3 separate regions of the Homo sapiens genome follow, and regions 2 and 3 are each linked to region 1. Evidence: promoter capture Hi-C in 16 types of primary human blood cells and fetal thymus (Javierre and others, 2016). All regions are on one chromosome and are shown on one strand. Each heading gives the region's core, a stretch centred on a gene start or on the middle of the fragment in contact. The rest is flanking DNA. Distances are from core to core; before and after follow the strand shown.

What was found. Contacts are between HindIII fragments. The CHiCAGO score rates a contact against its expected background, and 5 or more counts as called.
Region 2: a contact is called between a fragment that was not itself captured here and the fragment with the promoter of LSM6 in region 1, in 1 of 17 cell types (M2 macrophages). The highest score is 6.3, in M2 macrophages.
Region 3: a contact is called between a fragment that was not itself captured here and the fragment with the promoter of LSM6 in region 1, in 1 of 17 cell types (total CD4 T cells). The highest score is 5.3, in total CD4 T cells.

What each region holds. Positions count from the first base shown.
Region 1 is chr4:146,172,308-146,177,133 of GRCh38, reverse strand. It overlaps LSM6 (LSM6 homolog, U6 small nuclear RNA and mRNA degradation associated), which reads right to left and starts at 1,416. Exons shown (of 4, transcript NM_007080.3): 1 at 1,323-1,416. RefSeq lists a silencer at 1,207-1,266. The HindIII fragment of the contact is 3,935 bases long and covers 1-2,812 here.
Region 2 is chr4:146,916,244-146,920,844 of GRCh38, reverse strand. All of the region lies in intron 4 of TTC29 (tetratricopeptide repeat domain 29), which reads left to right. Among named protein-coding and RNA genes, the nearest start is that of TTC29-AS1, 15 kb to the left of the region's middle. The HindIII fragment of the contact is 5,699 bases long and covers 1-4,601 here.
Region 3 is chr4:147,087,189-147,092,042 of GRCh38, reverse strand. The region is part of intron 2 of LOC105377476 (a long non-coding RNA gene); the gene reads right to left. Among named protein-coding and RNA genes, the nearest start is that of TTC29, 140 kb to the right of the region's middle. The HindIII fragment of the contact is 179 bases long and covers 2,768-2,946 here.

The DNA.
Region 1 (4,826 bases), core at 167-2,666:
GCAATATAAGGGAGTTATGCCAGATGACCACTTAAGTCTCTTCCTGCCCTAACATTCAGGTAGTCTAACGCATTAACGCCAGTGACACACACACACACACACACACCACAAACACAAGCCTCTCAAGATTTCTGCACAATATTTAAGCAAGTAAAATTACCAAACATCTCTAAAACTTTTTTGGAAAACACTGCAGCAATGTGTATGAAGGCCTAAAACAGACCTTTCAGATGACAGCATCTAATCTGATAATTTCACTTCTGAGAATCTAGTCCAAGGAAATAATCTAAAAAATAGGGGGAAAAGAGTTTATCAAAGCACTATCTGGGATGCTAAGATGATGTAAAAATTCAAAAACAATCTAATGTCCCACAATCGGGAAATGACTGAATAATTTACGGGACCTAAACTGGGACCCACAATGATAGGACAATCAAAAGAAGATACAAAATTAGAATAATATTTAGGAAGAGTTTTTAAATGGAAGTGGAAAACTACACTGTTAAGTGATTAAACATGTACACTCTTAGTTCAAGTAGAAGCTAGCACATACAAGAGAAAATGATCGTAGGTGAAAGGGTTCAGTGAATATTATTTTCTTCACTAAAGTCTTCTATGTTTGCAATTTTCTACAATAGTCACGTATTACTAAGAGCAGTGGGGCAGGGTAATCCGCATCATCTTAATCCTACACACCTTAAAAATGCCTGCTATGCAGGTGTGCGGACACGCATACGCACAGAAAACCTTGGGCGATAGGACTTAAGACCATACAATCGGGTTCCTCGACCTGACAACTTGGTAAGACAGGCGAGTCCAGCCTTTAATTCCTGTGGTCAGGCGCAGCCACCCCGATGTAGGAGAGGGTTCGCAATTCCCTGAAGCCCTCCTGGAAGACAGGCGAAGCCTAGGCCTGGGTTCGGGATCCGCTTTCCCGCCGAATCTTGGGATTAGCGTCGGGGCTCCCTGGGGAACTTCAACAACCTGAATTGATCTCGGACGCCAACTCGGTAGGAGCCGGGACGGTGCCGCTCCTCTCCGCGCAGTCTAGGCGCCTCGCTGAGGGCGGTCCCGGCGCCCACCATCAGACCTCTCCCAGCCATTCCATGCGCGGAGAGCTTGGACGCGGCATTTCGCGGGGACCCGCCACCCAGCGGTCCCTTCCCGGAGCCCCAGCCTGTTCACCGCAGGCCCTTTCCGGGGCTGCCTCGCCCGGCCTAGGGCCGCTGCAGCCGCCGCTCCACAGCGCGACTGAACACTGGGGCACCGAACCTGGGGCTGCGCCCGGCCCCGTCGTCGGCCCGCGCAGCGGTGCGGCTCACCTCGCCGGCGGGAACCAGAACCCTCACTCCAGGCGCCCCACGAGCCCGGCCGCCGCGGATGATCCCAGCCAAAACCGAAAGCGCCGAGGCAGGGGCACTTTTCTGCCTCAGCCAATCAGTGCTCTTCTCTGCTACGGCAGCCCGCTGGGGCCGAAAAAGCCTGTCAGCACCAAAGCGCGCAAATCCAAGATTCCTGGTTTGTCTAGTAGCAAAATTGGTGCAGTGGAGTTCCTCTAACAGAAATCTGAGTACAAAACAAATACAATACAAAACAAAAACAAAATTCCAGGAAACTAGAAGTGATCTTTTGGGCAGGATTTATTTACAGAAGTGTAAAAAATAACTTGAAGTCATAGGAAACTGGAATTTACTGTTTAAGTAACGGCATTGTGTACCCAGAAACGTCCTTGAATAGTTTAAAGCAAATAAATAAATAAATGAAACACCTCAAGTCTTTAAATCTACCTCTGGATATTGATTAAATGTGTGAAGACTTAAGCCATTTTAGCAAGAGACTGTTTCCATGGCAATGTTAATTGATACAAAAATAATCAAAATCACTCAAGTAACTCCAAATTATAATGACATTAATTGTGTTACATTACTAGTTCCTATTGGAAATGGTGTGCAGACTTATTTCAGTGCTACTATGGGAACTTGGTTTGGAATTTTGCATGAATTCTCAATACTCTTTCTATTAATGGAATTGAAAGGGAAAAAGAAGAGAACTGTTACACCAGGACTTGATTCGTTTTTCCCCCTCCACATATACTCTCATCAGTTGAAAACTTATACTTTAATTATATTTATGATTTGTAACACTATACACAGAGTGATAAGATCTTTCAACACAGATCCTTAACCCCATTAGGTGTTATAAAATCTAAGATGCAAAATTTTTTTCGAAGATAAAGAGTTCCTCCCTTGTAAACTTCTTTTGGTTAAAGGCAGAAGAAATGAACTTTTGATTGATATCAGGGACAGAAAACAACTGGATATGATTTGTTAAAGAATAGAGACTTCCTTATATCCTTCTATAAAAGTTCAGTTTGGATAAAGACCGAACAGTTACTGATTTATTGTGAGGGCTGTATTTGAAGTTCTTGCAATATAAAATACAATGTAAATAAAAATTTTAAGAAAAGTACCATTTAAATCAAATAATTACGTGCAAAGAACAAACATAATAGGATAAAAAGCCCTGTTCCTAAAAACTTTCTTTGCAAACGACATCAAATTGCACATTCCTTACTGATTGTTTAAATTATTAAAAAAAAAAAGAAAATTTTTGATTCAAACTTCTTTCCCTTTCCTACAGAGCCCTAATCGAGCCGTTAACACTAGTGTGGTGGGTAGGGAGCCATGAGGAGTTTTAAGGGCCTAGTTCATCTGCTGAGCAGCTGCAACCTTCTCTAAGGGGAGTAGCTGGGTAAGGGCCCAGTTTGACACACGGGGTGGGCATCCTGAATTAATTCATGAGCTAACAAGCTTATAAAAAGTGTGGCTGTTCCCAAAAGCCCCTCAGCAGCTTATAAATGACTTTTACTAACTCACAAGGCAATTTTCCGTATTTCCCAGGTTTTTGCTTTCAGCATCTTTTATGATGCAAAGAAAACACTGCAAGACTTTTGGTGAATACTAGTCTTCAAAACCCTGAATGTAAACATTAATTTATTAAGGAGCCTTAAAGTCATAAAAATATTTTGGCAAGCTTTAGTTTAACTTATGTAGTTTAGTTTCATTTAGTTGTTAGGACTGATGAACCTACACTGACACATCATTATCATCCAAAGGCCAAAGTTTACATTAGGGTTCACTCTTGGTGTTGCACATTCTATAGGTTTTGACAAATGCATAATGAAATGTACCCACAATTACAGTATCATACAGAATAGTTTCACTGCCCTAAAAATTCTCTGTGCTCCACCTATTTATCCCTTCCTCCCCACTGGCAACCGCTGATCTTTTTTCTGTCTCCAAAGTTTTGCCTTTTTCCACAATATCATATATTTGGAATCATACCGTACACAGTTAGTGGTGCATACACTGCACCACCCCACTGTGTAGCCTGTTCAGACTGGCTTCTTTCACTTAGAAATATGCATTTAAGACCCCTCTGCGCCTTTTCATGGCTTGACAACTCATTTCTTTTAAGTTCTGAATAATATTCCATTATTTGGATGTACCACAGTTTATTTATCCATTTACCTACAGAAGGACATCTTGGTTGCTTCCAAGTTTGGGAAGTTATGAATAAAGCTGCTATGAATATGTGTATGCAGGTTTTTGTATAGAAATAAGTTTTCAGCTTATTTGGGCAAATATCAAGGAGTATGACTGCTAGATCATATAGCAAGGGTATGTTTAGTTTTGTAAGAAACTGCCAAACTGTCTTACAATGTGGCTGTACCATTTTGCATTCCCACTAGGAGTGAATGAGAGTTTCCATTGTTCCACATCCTCATGGGCATTTGGTGCTTCCAGTCCTTTGGATTTTGACTAGTCTAATAGCTGCTTAGTGACTATCTCATAGTTGTTTAAAGTTGTAATTCCCTAGTGACATATGATATGGAGGATCTTTCTATATACTTATTTGCCATATGTATATCTTTGGTTGTTCAGGTCTTTGGCCCAATTTTGAATCAGTTTGTTCTTTCTTTTTGTTGAGTTTTAAGAGTCCTTTGTATATTTTGAATAATAGTTCTTTATCAGATATGTGTTTTACAAATATTTTCTCCCAGTTTATGGCTTGTCTTTTCATTCTCTTGAAGCTATTATGCTTAAAATAGACAAATGCAGATATATAAATGCTAAGAGAACTCTTGCCACTTCATTGTTTGTCCCTTCTACAGTTCTATAGTACATATGCCTTTAAATAACTATGTCCTTCAATGTTTCATATTCATAAAAGATGGTCTCATGTCTAGCTTATTAAACACCCAACAGCCCTGTGAACATGTAGATGAATGTATTGTGATGTTGTTGTGGTTGTTGTTGATGATGATGATGATGATGATAAATACAAACATGTAATTGGATTGACCAACACTCTCCAAAGCAGATTTTAATATGTAACATGGATGTTAAGCTTCCAAGAATACTGGCTGGTCTTGTTGGAGCAATGCATTAACTGGTATGAAGTGCTGGCATGGACCTGAACCTTTCCTGGACCTTCAGACTGTACAATAGGAGCTCATAAGCTGTGATGTGCTAGTTTTGGATACTTGGGGCCACCATTATCTGCCTTTAATCATGGGATATGAAAATTATTTGTTATAGAAAATGAAGAGAGGCCGGGGGCAGTGGCTCACACCTGTAATCCCAGCACTTTAGGAGGCCAAGGTTGGCGGATCACTTGAAGTCAGGAGTTCAAGACCAGCCTGGCCAAGATGTTGAATCCCGTCTCTACTTAAAATTAAAAAATTAGCTGGGTGTAGTGGCACATGCCTGTAATCCCAGCTACCTGGGAGGCTAGGCATGAGAATCTCTTGAACCCGACAGGCT
Region 2 (4,601 bases), core at 934-3,433, 740 kb before region 1:
CCCAAGACATATAGAATATATATAATTTCTCACCCAAGACATACAGATTTCTCACCCAAGACATATAGAATATTTATATCTAAAAATATAGAACTGGAGTCATCTTAAGAATCATTTGGTTTCTTTTTAAAAATTTTATCAAAAAAGGGGCTCAAGAGAGTGTAGTTAATGGAGTACCAATGATTGATTTGTAAAAGATAAGTTTTATAAGTGTATATACTTTTTTCTCATGACAAAATATCATTACTTCACTAGAAGACATGCCATAGTAAGAGAAATACACATGCAGTTTTTGTTATTTACCCCTACACTATCTTCCATTACATTACTGAAAAGAGCATGAATAATGTTTTGTTTTCATTTTTAATTTATGTGATTTTTTTCCCTTTGTATTTTAAACGTTATATTTCTCTTAAAAACTTGTCATGTTTACAACTCAATGTATACTATTTTTCTTGCCATTATTTTTAATATGTTTAAAGTATTATAGGGAAATATATGTTTAGAGGGGGCAACATTAGAATATATATGACGAACCTATAGGTGTAAAGAATTGATTGTTTTACCTTTCTCAGAGAAAGCTCCTCATGTAGTTGTTTAGTATGAAAGGTTTTTTCTTGAAAAGGTTAAAAAAGTTCTAATCAACTTTTGTACATTATGTAGAACTTCATTTTCTAAACTCTGCAAAAGAAAGTTTCATATTTAATGGGGAATCATGAATTATTCCATTTATTATCTACTTCCTCCTTTCAAAGACATGATCTGGATAAAAGGCGGGGTGAATAATTTCAAAAAATACAATACATTTTTAATGGGAAGGTGCAAACTACAGATTCTCATGACTATTAGCAAGTGTAGAGGAAACAGAATTTTACTTGCAAAACTTGTCAAATTCTTGCAAAGATAAAATGTATGACATACTTTAGTAAAAAAAAATGCAGTGAGCTGAAGTTTTCTTTATAATGCAACTTGTTTTTACTAAGTTTGTTCTTTATATTCTCCAGCTTTTCATTTTTAATAAAAGTTTGATATTTCCCTGAATGTATATGGGAAGTTGATAGTTCTTTTATTTATAATGCTGTGTAGAAAACTAAAAGAAAATTTTAAATGATGTTATTTGAGAAAAAGTTTTCCAAACAATAAAATTTCAAAAAATGTGGAGGGTATCATAGAATTATGTTTCAAAAAACAGAGTGTCAGTGTGAAGATGGGTGGTTTTAAAAAGAAGAACACAACAGAGTGAATATCATATTCTATGGAGTTTTTTGTTAATAGAAATTATAAATACAAATTTAGACAAAAATGATCATTTGATGAGTGAGTATGATGATATTTACATGTATATTTAGTCCACTCTTTGTAGTCCTGTGATATGAAGCTCATTTTTTGTTTCCCTCCTCTTTTCCTCATGTTTCTTCTTGTTATATTAGGACACATAATACACCAGAATTGTATTACTTATTTGAATTTATTTTGTATCATTATAACTCAATTTAAAAGCTAAGATTATTTCCAGGGTTTATTTTTCAGCTTAGGTTTAACTGGTTTTTCTATAGTAGAGAAGTACAGTGTAATCTGAAAGAAAAGAACAAGAATCCATATGATTTGCTGCAGTTAGCCAAAGGTGTTTGGAGTCGTGTTGTAATCCTGGCTTGAAAATACTGTCCCTGAAAAATTCTCCTTTAACACTCATTTAATATCTTTCCATGTGGAATCTTTGGCTTAAAATTTTTCTACACAAATTATTTTGTATAAAGTTTGAATTTCTCAAAGGAGTTTGGAAGTAATAAGACTTTTATCAAAATTGCATATGTAATTAACCTCATATAAGGAGCTTTTCTTCCAATCCTTTTTTACCAGACTACTAGAGAAGTTTTCATTAAAGGCAGTTACTTTTTGTGAGATCAACAAATGTTTCTAAAACAAACAGTATTTTTTTAAGTCTTAAAAATGTGTATGTTTGAGGTTTTTCGATAAAGAAAATGAATGATGCTGAAGTGCTGTGCGACAGCTACCGTGGGTAACTATTTTGGTAATACTTTCTATTGTCTGATGAATAGTTTATCCATTCCTGGTTGATAACAATTACTGTACTTGAAATATTTGATTAAATGGGAATCACTTGAATAAATAACTTTGAGCAAGTGGGCACATAAAAAATGCCTTTATGTTATTAAGGAAATTATCTAAAGTTATTGTAAAGATTATAGTCCTGTACTATTTGCTAAATAAGCATGCTTTCCTCTGATATTTGTTAATAATCATCAATGAAAATATAGTTTGGTTTATAAACATTTGTTGATCTCACAAAAAGTGACTGCCTTTAATGCAAAACATCAGTTCTATCAAAATAGAATCTGTGAAATAATTTCTGTCCCATTCTACACAAATATTTCATAACTTCTAAAATATAATCACCCATGTTGAAATGAATTCTTATCAGGCTATTGAGAGAATCTTTACTGATCAAATTTTTAGATATTTTTATTATTCGTTGAGTTATATTAGTGATAGTACTATTTACAAAATGCCAGAGGATAAACTTTATTCCTTAATTATTACTAGTTTTTTTCTTAAAAAATAAAGGTTGAACTTAGGTTAGTTTTTTCAAAATAGCATTTTTCAATTTGTATATATACTTTTAAAATGTTGAAATTCTGACTATGCTTTTCTTTATTATTAATAGATAAAAAATCCAAAAATACAAAGCAAAACTTGCATATGTAACAGTTTCGTCTAAAGTTCAAATTAGTAAACGCGTAACTGTTTTGATAATCACATAAAAATTCTATTCCATAAAATGTTCTGGGGGGCAGATTTTATTTATGTATTTAAAATTGTTAAATTGGCCTATCTACCTAAATTGAGTCTAAATCAAAACTGAAACAGAATGCTATATTAATATTTATATTCTGACTTTTTGGTAATATTTTTATATTGCTTAATTTTTTCAGTTCATATAATAAAAGATGAAATCATTTATTTGGATAGCAATTCTAAGAAATTTTTAGAAAAATTATAAATTAATATATTGCATTAGACAATCTCTTTGGAATGAAGCTAAAATGTTATGTGACTCTTTACAAGGAGAATTTTATATAATTTTTATATATAATTTTATATAAATTGTGTATCATATAATTTAATATAAGTAATATAATATAAAATTTATATAATGCATAATTTTATATAAATATATAATATATAATTTATATAATATCTAATTATATATTATAAATAATATATAATGTATATAATATCTAATTGCATTTTATAAAAATTACATATAAATTATATAAATTTTACAGCAATATATAAAATATATAATGGTAAAATATAAGCATATCACAATATTTATACTTTCAAATTATATTTTTAATCTCTCAAAGTGAATATGGTCTATAAATTCTGCAAAAAAATCAAGATCATTATAATGGCTGTGATATTTAAATTATATGATTAGTCATAACATAATATTATAAAAAGAGCTTTTTAATTAAAATATGTTAAATTATAATACATTGAAATGATTGTATTGTGTTCATTATATGTTCAATATTCTTTAAGGAGGTTCTGAAATGTTTAGAGGACATTAATAACAATGTTCATTTTAATGATGAATTCTAGTTGTAATGACTATAATGAAAAATTCTTCTGATCCAAGTATAATAAATTCTACTTTTTGAGATGTTAACATGTAATAATTAAATTAAATCATATAGAAAATAAGCAGTAGTCATATTATTTATGATTGGTGGATGTATGAGATACAAAATGATTTGTTTTAGAGAATCCATCATAATTTAAAAGTGCTTTATATATATATTTTATTTGGATTAATAAAAATTTCTCATTAAATATGTGAATGTTTAAGTATAAAATATTTTTCTAATTTTTCCAAAAATAAGAATTGGATGCTTTGAAAACTGTTAATCTATGGTATGCCACCTGCCCTATTTACATTTTTAACAGTTGAATATTTGTTAACTGATCTCATAGACAGCTACATGTTTTGCTGTTACCAGATGGATGAGATAGAATACCATGCATAACTTTACATTTATCTTCTTTGTCAACTTATTTGCATATCAATTAAAATAATATCTGTATTAGGATGGATAGTGAAAGTTACCAAATTTACATGATGTAACTGCAGTTTGCTAAATTTCCAGTAGATGCCCCCAGAGACCAGTCAACTCATTGGAAATCATGTAAATTTAAAGACCTTTTTATATTGAAACTTCTTTCTTGCTATATTTTGAAGTGCATGGAAAATAAATTAAGAATTCTAAAAATCTTAACTCACTAATCTTTCTTACAAAATACATATATGGCTGTTGGTAGCCCAATTCTTAATCATTGCTAATCAATACTATGACTAATAATTGTGAACAACCTAAGCATTAAGAAAAATGCTTTCAGTTTTCATTATAATTCTATATGGCTTTAAAGTAAAAAGTCATTTTAAACACTCTCAAATTTTTTGTCTTTTTAACTTCTCTCTCTTTATACATTTATATGGCTAGGAAAATGCTATATTGTTATTTTAGCTTTTGGGAAAAAATAGCATTTTTACCAAAAACTATAAAACATAAACAACT
Region 3 (4,854 bases), core at 1,608-4,107, 910 kb before region 1:
TTTCATCAGGCTTGGAAATACACATGCAAATGGCACAGAGTTCCAAAATGGGCTGTTGCACCCAACACAAAAGAAGACCTGTGAGCGCATGCATGTGCAGGCATATGTATGTGTGCACGGGTTTTCTGCTGCCAAAGGCTTTATATCTTGGTGGCACCCAGATGGTGAGGAGGAAGTAGTCAGAATTGCCTTGCTTGACTAACTCTCCATTTTGATGATCAAACCCCAAACAAACCCAAAGCTTTGGTCTGGGGGCAGGGTTGTCACTTTTAAATATAACAAAATAAACTACCCTCCCTCTCCCCCCAAAAGCAGCCATTTGTAACTTGGACATAGATTCAGGGCCCATGAGAGCAGAAAGGCTCCTAGAGCTACTGAGACCAAAGCCTCCAGGTGGCGGAGGAAGCGTCAGGCCCAGGTCAGCATGTCTTTTCAGAAATTAGTCAGGAAGACTATGCTGGCAAAGGCAGCTCCTATGCAGACCTGTGTCACCCTTCTCTTCAGAGTAAGTCTCTAGTCCTTGCCTTTTCTTCTTATGGACTCTCCTTTTCCTCCCTCTTCTCAGGGGGAAAATGATCTCAAAGTCACAACATGAATATTTGCTAGGTTTGATTTTGGCAAAATTAAATAACCCCTTGGTTTAAGCCAGGCCACAGGAGAGCTGTGTGTTTTGCCTGGTGTAGGCTGGAGCCTGGTGAATTGTGCTTTCGTGTTGTGCTATTGCTTGTATTGAGAGACACTAGCAAGGGGCCTTATAAAGCCTGTTACTTTGTTCACTGTAGGGATTCTGCAGGCTGCCATCCATACAATCAGGCCATTGGCGAATGCTTTCACATAACTCATGGGAATTAATATTTTAAGTTTTATGATCTGCGAAAAATCATGTTTCTCCCCAACAATTGTGAATTTTTTCCACTATAAATTTTGTAACTGAACATTGTCTGTTTATTGCTTAGGCTGTTGGGAAGCATTTGTCTGAGCTTGCAGGTTCAGTTTCCTTATCTGTAAAATGAAGATAATAATAACGTACCTCATAGCTTTACTATGAAGAAAGATAATGGCTTTATTTTGAAGAATAAATGTTTTTTTCTACAAAGATAAAGAAGGTAAAACATGGTGCATCTTTTTTAGCCCATGGTGAATGTTTAATTAATGTCAGTTGTTATGATTTATGCATGTGACAACAATAATGTATCGGTAAGCAGTAGTGATATGTCAGGCACTCTGATAGATGCTGGAAATAAGGAGCAACCTAGACCCAGCTCGAACTCTCCAAGAGTGCATTCTCAAACAGCAAAAGCAAGCTGGTAAGTAAATAATGAAGTGTGACAGGTGCTGTGACGAGGAAGGACAGGTGGGAACATGCTTCGGGAGCACCTACTCCAGTCTGAGGAGCATGACCCAGAACTGGAGGAAGTTTAAGTGCAAGTTCAGCTGGTGGAGAGGCAGAGGAGCCTCACTGAAAAAACTGTGCAGGAAAGGACATATTTGAATTGTTGAACGAGGTCTGGTGTGACCAGAGGGCAGAGTAGCTGGTGGGGTGCTGAGACTGCCAGAGAGGTGGACAGCAGTGAGGTGCCGGGTCAGGCTAGTATTATAAGCTACACTGAGGAATTCTGACTTTATCTTATGTATAGGGGGCAGTCATTAACATGTTGAAGCAATGATAAGACCTCATCTGATTTGCTTTTTAGAGGTATCACTCAGGTATGGAGACTGAGATTAGAGGAGGGCTAGGTGGGAGTTGAGGAGATGAATTGGGCATCTCTTGAGCATTGGTGCTGGGGACTGGACTAGAGTCAGGGCATCCATCCAGCCAAAGTTCCACCTTCCACTTTCCAGCAACCATACAGGAGTGAATGGTTTGCATTTATATATATTTTGGAATATTTCCTTCAGCATTAGTTTTCTTGTCTATTTTCTTTTTTGCTCCAATTTCAGCTATTTATTATATCCTGTGTAGTGTGTGTCTTCAGGTATGCTTTAAATTCTTTTGTGAAATCAAAATGTGCAGGAAAGAAGGAATGAAAGACGGAAGAAAGAAAGGAGGAGAGAGGCTGGTGATACTCATGAGCTGGTACTCCCTTCTTTACATACATTTATTTCAAAATAACTATAAAGCATCTGTCCTAGTTTTGACCCGATTTGAGGGAAAGTCTTTATATCAGACTCTGTGTATATTTTTTACCATTAAATGCATTATAACCTTGTTGAGGATGTGACTCAGATGGTGTTACCATTGTAGGACAGATATGAGCTTTCCTCCTCTGTTAAACTTCTGACCATAATTCAAACACCTGCGTATTTAAACTGGTGCAGTCAGAACAAGTTTCTGCACTCATCACTTCTTCACCCAGCAAGGTATGTGAAAGAAGATTTGTGCAGCCAGTTGGTACTAAATTGCATAATAGGTTAACCTGAGCCCTTTGAATTCAAACAAAAGAAGTTCTCAACCTGATTGGAATTAACCTACACTGACTTTCTGCTTCATCTTTCCTAAAGTGAAGATGATACCGATCGGCAGGCGGGGAGCCTGATGGATGTTAATGGGGGGTTTTCAAGTTTGTCTTGCTTTTCTTAAACTATTAAGAAAGAACAAAAAACATTATTTAGAGTGGAATCAGTTTCCAAGAAGGGAAAAAAGAAAACTGAGAATTTATTATTAAAGAAAGAAATGGAGCCAAGGTGAAAAAAAGAAAAAAAAAAAAAGGCCTTCTCACATCTCCTGGCCAGGTGCTCCGTGCATATAAATGTTTCAAGTTAAGCTTTAAGATCAAGGGAAAGTCTGCAGGGAGCCTTGTTTCCTAGAGGTCTGCTTGCTAGAGCTGCTCCCGAATACGGGCTGCCCATTTTTATTTGGTTATTAAGGATTAAAGCAGGCGACAATTCTGGAATGGTAGTTCCTTGGTTTCCATTGACTTTGTACAAGAGAGTGAAAAGCAAGCTTCCAAGGGAGGGTTTGCATATGTATTTTGGGCTATCAGCTCGCCCCCTTCCCTGTCATCTTGTGTGTATGTTTAACATGAAATTGCCCTTCCTCTCATGAACTCACACTACAAGAAAGCTGCCTCGTTGCAACGATTGAGAATCTCTGTGCCTCTCAGAAATCCTCCTGGTTTTCACAGGAGTGTGGAGGGAAGATGAAAGGAATTTCACATTAGATTGCTGGTTGCTCCAGATACTGCAGGTTAGCAATTGCCCAGGTTCTCTGGGCTTTCAGCCTCTGAATACATGATTAGGAAGGCAACCCATCACTCTGTGTCCATATCTTTAAATTTTCCTTTTTTCTTGTTAGTTTTACAGCCTGCCCTCAAATCTAAAGCCCGTCTGAAGTTACTTTAGTAAAGTGACTAAGTTTAGTGATAAAACAACACACACCTGAAGAGAATGCCTGATCGTCCTGGTGGGTAATGGGGTCATGAGTGTCAGTTTTAGTAACAGTCGTTATAATAAAAGCAGAGATGAAGAGCTCAGCCTTCCAAAGTCACAAAATAACAGTACAATTTGCTGATTTAATCCAAGCAATGTTTTAAAAACAGAACTGGAAACTCAGAGTTTATAAAGACTTACACCCTCTGTCATCAACATTTTTCAATCCCACAGGAGCCCAGGAGGTTCAATGTATAAACTAAAAGGCTGAATATAAATAAAGTGACTTGTCCCGTGTCACATGACTGGACTAACAAATCATGGAATCTGAAATGAAAACTGTTCGGTTTCACTTCAGTATTGTAATATCCAGTGCCATTATTGTGATTTCGATGCTGCATGTTGTTCTTAATCATTGCCAGGTTTTGCAGCACGGAAGGCTGCATAACATGAATGGTGAAAGATCAACCAAAAACATGTAATTCTGGAACAGTGTCTCTTATTGTATGTTTTTTTAATTGAAATTTTTATATGCTCAGAGCCGAATTTATTTTCTATTATAACCTCATAGTTTTATGTTCATGGCTACTCAATAGCATGGTTATTTTAAAAGCAGTAATCAATAATTATATGTCCATAGTCATTATTACCTAATATGGTAATGAACACAGTTAAAGACTATAGACTTGCAGTTTCATCCAGAGGTTACGTCTATCTTCTGTTAAAATGTGAACTTCTCTTTGATGTGGAATAATAGTTGAGAAATAAAGATGGCTGGCCATGGTGGCCCACGCCTGTAATCCCAGCACTTTGGGAAGCCGAGGTGGGCAGCTCACGAAGTCAGGAGTTCGAGACCAGCCTGGCCAACATGGTGAAAACCCCGTCTCTACTAAAAATACAAAAATTAGCCAGACCTGGTGGTATGTGCCTGTAGTCCAGCTACTTGGGAGGCTGAGGCAGGAGAATTGCTTGAACCCGGGAGGCAGAGGTTGCAGTGAGCCAAGATCACGCCACTGCACTCCAACTTGGGCAACAGAGTGAGACTTCGTCTCAAAAAAATACATAAATAAAAATAAAAATAAAAATATTTCAGTGCTTAGTAATCCTGACACCTCTGTGCAGTATTTGCTCTCTCTCTCCCTCTCTACTTTCAGAACGTTCCAGAATGCTGTCTTTTGATAGTCTGTAATGCAGAAGCTGTTAGAGAAGCCTCACCCTGGGAAAGTATTCTTCAGGACAGATGGCATTCTATTTTATTTACCCTTTGATTGTATCTTAGGAAAAAGTTATCACATTTACTGGGCACAGGAATTTGGGGATGTTGAATTTGGTGATGGTCATTTGTGAGATTTGACTCACTCTGCTGCCTCCACCAGCAGTGCCTTCATATATGGGCCTTAAAGGAGAAGAGGCATGTGGCATCACTCACTCATACAGCAAGTGTTCACCCAGTTCATACTTCATCGGGGCAACTGAGCGGGTCCA